2 separate regions of the Homo sapiens genome follow, and region 1 is linked to region 2. The links are contacts of gene promoters, found by promoter capture Hi-C in blood cells and fetal thymus (Javierre and others, 2016). All regions are on one chromosome and are shown on one strand. The core of a region is centred on a gene start or on the middle of the fragment in contact, and the rest is flanking DNA. Distances in the headings are between cores, read along the strand shown. Region 1 overlaps PAQR9-AS1 (PAQR9 antisense RNA 1). Region 2 holds the start of SLC25A36 (solute carrier family 25 member 36).

Region 1 (2,700 bases), core at 36-2,535, 2.1 Mb before region 2:
TATACAGATTCCTTTGACAATAATAATTAGCAGTGGCAGCCAGGCGCAGTGGCTCACGCCTGTAATCCTAGCACTTTGGGAGGCCAAGGCAGGTGGATTGCCTGAGCTCAGGAATTTGAGACCAGCGTGGGCAACATGGTGAAACCCCTTCTCTACTAAAATACAAAAGAAATTAGCTGGGCATGGCAGCGTGCACCTGTAGTCCCAGCTACTCAGGAGGCTGAGGCAGGAGAAATGCTTGAACCCAGGAGGCAGAGGTTGCAGTGAGCTGAGATCACACCACTGCACTCCAGCCTGGGCAACAAAGCGAGACTCCGTCTCTACAAAAAATAATAATAATAATAATAATAATAATAATTAGCAGTGGCATTTTTTTAAAAATGATGTCAAAAAGTATATAGCCCAAGAATACACTGGTGCCATGTTGAAAATAATAGAAATTGCCATTTTAACTATGATCCTAGTGAGAAGGAAACCTTTACTGTGTAGGAATTATTTTATCAACAAGGTTAATAAAATCTAGGAGAGTCCAGATGGCGTACTGTGGAAATGGAAATGAGCGTTCCTGAGTGTGTGTGTGTGTGTGTGTGTGTGTGAGTGTGATAAAGGAGGACTCAAGGTTCCTGTGGCAGGTCATGAGAACCAGCACACGGCAAATCTGGGGAGCTCTCTCTTGCCATGGCCAGGCAACCCAAAGGTGGGCTTGACTTGGACCACCAAAGATAAGGCCTCACTTAACTTGTGACCTGGCTTTGGCCAGTGCGAAGCGTACATATCCCCATATTTACTGAAACTCACGAGACAAGACCAGGTAATATTACAGGCTGGGTGGAGAATGAAGTTATGAAAAGAAAATGAAAGAAGACTTTCCCTCATCAATTTCATCTGTTAATAACAAAAGTTGTTAGTAACAGTGGTCTTAAAACACATAAGGCTTTATTTTGACATTGCTATAGTGGTAAGATTCTATCAAAACAACATGGCATACCTTTCTTCTTTTTCAAGTTTTGTTCCATTTCCTTCACATTAACTTTGCATTATTTCCTGTTACTTTAATTGTTAGGTATTTTGTCTTTTCTGTTGTTACTGTGATTATAGTAAGTTTTTGTATTTATGTATGTCCTAAATAAGCTGTTTATTGATATATTAATGTTGTGTAATGTGTTTACTGAATTCTTTTATTATTTACATAGGTTTTCAGTTTATTCCCTTGAACTTTCAGGTATACAATCATATTTGCAAATAATTACCAGTTTGCCTCCTCCTTTCCCATTTTTATACTTTTTTCTTGTATAATTACATTAGCCAGTACCCCCAGAATAATGTTAAGAGTGGTGCTAATGAACATGCTTGTCTTTTTTTTTTTTTTTTTTTTATCGAGATGGAGTCTCTCTCTGTTGCCCAGGCTAGAGTGCAGTGGCACGATCTCTGCTCACTGCCAGCTCCGCCTCCCGGGTTCACGCCATTCTCCTGCCTCAGCCTTCCGAGTAGCTGGGACTACAGGTGCCCGCCACCACGCCCGGCTAATTTTTTGTATTTTTAGTAGAGATGGGGTTTCACCGTGTTAGCCAGGATGGTCTCGATCTTCTGACCTCATGATCCGCCCGCCTTGGCCTCCCAAAGTGCTGGGATTACAGGCGTGAGCCACCGCGCCCGGCCAAACATGCTTGTCTCATTCCTGACTCTAATGAGATGATTTTAGTATTCTTATGAGGATAAGGATAACTTTTTGGGTTGTACCTTGAATTGTACATTAACTTTTTTTTAGCTAACTGTGGAACTGAATAGAATTTAAAACTCTCATAAGAAAACTAAGGGACTGTGAGGATACACCAAAGAATGCCAATGGTCACACAGCCCTGTTAGAGAAACATTGTTAGAGGCTTGTGTCAAGACAAACCAGGACATCTCCCTGACTTGGGAAAATAGGGGAACAAAGTAGAAATGTCCCACTCTGCACACCAGTGAAAATGAGCAGTGTGGAACGCAGATTAGGAGGAGGACAGGTAGAAATCTGTATAGTTTCCTATTGCTGCTGTAGCAAATTACCACAAAGTTAGTGGCTTACAGCAACTCAGATGTATTTTATAGCTCTGGAGGTCAGAAATATAAAATGTACCACCAGGCCCGTGCTTATTTTGGAGTCTCTAAAGAATAATCCTTTTCTTTCCCCTTCCCAGCTTCTAGAATTCACCTGCATTCCTTGGTCTGTGGCCCTCTCCTCCATTAGCATCTTCTGACACTTGCCTCCACCCTTATCTCTTCTCCAACTCTGCTCCCTCCCTCTTATAAGGACCCTTGTGATTACATTGGCTCTACTATGACAATCCAGGATAATCTCCCATCTCAAGAGCCTTAATCACAGCTGCAAAGTCCCTTTGCCATGTTAGGCAATATATTTGCAGGTTCTGGGGATTAGGGTGTGGACATCTTTGGAGGGCCATTATTCAGTTTACCATAGGATCTATAATGAACTTTCTGTTTCTGTATTTTGTCCCTGGCTGAAAGGACACAGCTTTGATCCCACCAGAGAACTGACTTGGGAATGGTCCTAATAAATATAGTCATCTTTAATCAGTTGAGTTCTGAAATCATTACTTGGGAATTCAATGGGTAGAAGGTGTGGTTCCAGTGAGGATGGGATAAGACAGGTCCCTGTTGTCAAAGGGCTTGCAGGGCATAAAACACTCCCAGATGTAT
Region 2 (2,700 bases), core at 60-2,559:
CTCCAAATAAGTAACTCTTAAAATTGCTATGATTCTCCAAATGATTTAGAAGGAGCAAATCTAAACAGGAGGCTAAACTGGAAGCTCTAACACTCATTTTGGCAATCAGGGAACTAAGACTTTAGGCTTAGTCCTAATCTTGCACACACATAGTAACTATTAACACTATCTTCAAAAAATCTGACCTCTCTCCACTCCTACTTTCTCCTAAGCAGCAGAAAAGCAAGCGGTGTTCAAGAGGGGTGGTTTTCTCGAAAGGAATCTGACCCCAAAGGTACTGGAAAGCTTTGCACCCCATTCACCACCTGGAAAACCTCGGGCAAGAAATTTTCCAAGGGCTAGAAACACCCTACAGCAACCACGGGAGAATACCAAAGCCTTCCCCGCTCGATCCCGTAGCCCCCTTACCACCCACCTTGCAAAGCCGAGCCCGGAAATGAGCGGCCCGAGGTCCGAGGTGGGGCGTGAGTGACGTGCAGAGGCCCAAGCGAGCGCTGCAAGGAGCGAGGGCTAAAGGAGTCTCCGGCGCCCATTTTGTCCTCAGCCTCCGCACTTTCCGCCCCGTCCCCTTGGGCCATGCAACCTACGCGAAATCCGAAGCCAGGCTCCTCAAAGCGGCCCTGGATCCCCGACGCCTGCTAGATTGCGGCGTGCGGCCAGGTCCAGCGGCGTCCGGGTAATCAAGCGCCGACCCCAGCTCTTGCCCGCGTCTCCTCAGACGCATGGATTCGGCCTCCGCCTCACCCCGGCCCCGCGGGCCCAAAACCTCACTCCCGGCCCGGGTTTCATGCCTCAACCCTCTTTGCCCGGGCCTCACTCTCTCGCCCTCGGGCCCGGGCCTCACCCCCTTGCTTCCCCGAACCGGAGCCCCCCTCACCACCCACGGGCTGGGTCGCTCCCCTCACCCGCAGGCCCGTGGCAGCTCCCCGCCCAGGCCTCACTCCCGCCCCCCCACCCCCCCACCCCCCTCGGCCCCCCTCGCCCCCCTCGCCTGCGTCTTCGGCCCCAGCACCCTCAGCCCCAGTGCGCACGCCCCGCCAGGACCTTACCCTCCGGCAAACAGATGCACCAGCGTGTCCCTCTGGCTCATTCTCTCTCCCGCATGTCCTCCGGCCGCTGAGGCGGGACGCGGATCTGGCCGCCCGCTACGGCAGGCGGCTTCGGTCCCGGACTGGAGACGCACAGCGCCCCGGGGACGGCGAGGAGAGCTGGCCGAGATGCGGCTGCAGAAAGCAACCGGCACAGCCCTCCCCGCGGCACTCCAGCCGCGCCACCGCCTGCCTAAGCGCGCCGCCCTTCACCAGAGGCTGAAAGCGACGCAGCGCAGCGCGACGGAGAGTGGGCGGGGGATGGTAGGGGGAAGATGACTATTTGATGGCTCCCGACATAAACAGAGGCTCCCATTGGTGTGAGCGTCGTGACGTCACGCACTCTGCAGTGTTCTTTCACGTGATCCCTACGGGCTCTTTCAATGAAAGGGGCCGCGAGGCGTGGCCAGAACGCGTGCCCGGAGGGTGGTAGGTCACCGCGCTCCTAGCACCTGAGACCTGGGGCGCCCCTGGCCTGAGTGAACGCGCCAATCACGGCTGCACTCTCCTGAACAGGGAACTGGCGGGGCGGGAAAAATCGACTTGGTTCCGGGTTCGCAAGCGGATTTACTTTGAAAAAATTGGATTTATGACCCAGCAGTTCCCTTGGTGTCTATCTCAGAGTAACCCTCGCACAATGCATAAAAAGGTTTGTGCACGGATACTCCTATATAGGCTCACAAACAGTACAGAATTATGAACAATGCTTGCAGTTGCAGAAAATTGAAATCAGTGGGGGAATGAAGAAATAAATCATGAAACATTCCTACTATGGAATATTATGCAATCGTGACAAGGGATGAGGTGATTCCATATGGCAAAAAATCTCCCGAAGTGTGTAATAAGTAAAAAAGGCAAGTAGAATTAAAATACTTGGGTTTGTTTTTAAAAGAATAAAAGTTCATGGGAAATGGAATTAAAAGATAAAATTTAAAAATATAAACTTTGTTTTTCAACGTAAGCTCCATCAAGTTAAAGACAGTTTGGTAAGTGATGATACCGGCTCTTTAGTCCATCTGTAAAGAATTGAGGGTTCTGGGAATTTAATCATGAAAATGCAGGCTTTTTTACGTTATTAACTGAAGAAAAATGGGTGCCATTTACAGATTTTTCACGATTAGAAAACAAAAATATGTCAGAAGGAGCCAGGTCAGGAATGTAAGATGGATACCTGATAGTTTCCCATCGAAATCCCTGGAAAAATGCCCTTATTTAAAGAGAGGAATGAGCAGGAACATTGTCCTGATGGAGAAGGACTCTCTGGTGAAGATTTCGTAGGTGTTTTTATGCTAAAGCTTTGCTTCACTTTCTCCTATAGTAAGCGGATGTTATTGCTCTTCCACCCTCCAGAAAGTCAACAGGCAAAATACCTTGAGCATCCCAAAAAGCTGCTGCTATGACTTCGGCTCTTGACCAGTCTACTTTTGATTTGACTGGACCACTTGCACCTCTTGGTAACTATTGCTTTGATCCAGAATCATACTGAGAAAGCTATGTTTGATCTCCTGTTACAATTCTTCAAAGAAATGTTTCAATATATGATCCCACTTGTTTACAATTTCCATTGAAAGCCCTGCTCTTGTCTGCAGCTCATCTGGGTGCAACAGTTTTG

The links. The method cuts DNA at HindIII sites, captures the fragments that hold promoters and counts their contacts. A CHiCAGO score of 5 or more calls a contact.
Region 1: a fragment that was not itself captured here is called in contact with the fragment with the promoter of SLC25A36 in region 2 in 1 of 17 cell types (naive CD4 T cells); the score reaches 5.1 in naive CD4 T cells.

Annotation. Positions count from the first base shown.
Region 1 is chr3:142,994,670-142,997,369 of GRCh38, reverse strand. The region is part of intron 3 of PAQR9-AS1 (PAQR9 antisense RNA 1); the gene reads right to left. Among named protein-coding and RNA genes, the nearest start is that of U2SURP, 5.6 kb to the left of the region's middle. The HindIII fragment of the contact is 9,415 bases long and covers 1-2,700 here.
Region 2 is chr3:140,940,445-140,943,144 of GRCh38, reverse strand. SLC25A36 (solute carrier family 25 member 36) reads right to left here and starts at 1,309. Exons shown (of 7, transcript NM_001104647.3): 1 at 1,050-1,309. The coding sequence starts at 1,090. RefSeq lists enhancers at 156-385, 25-872, 966-1,335. The HindIII fragment of the contact is 2,098 bases long and covers 288-2,385 here.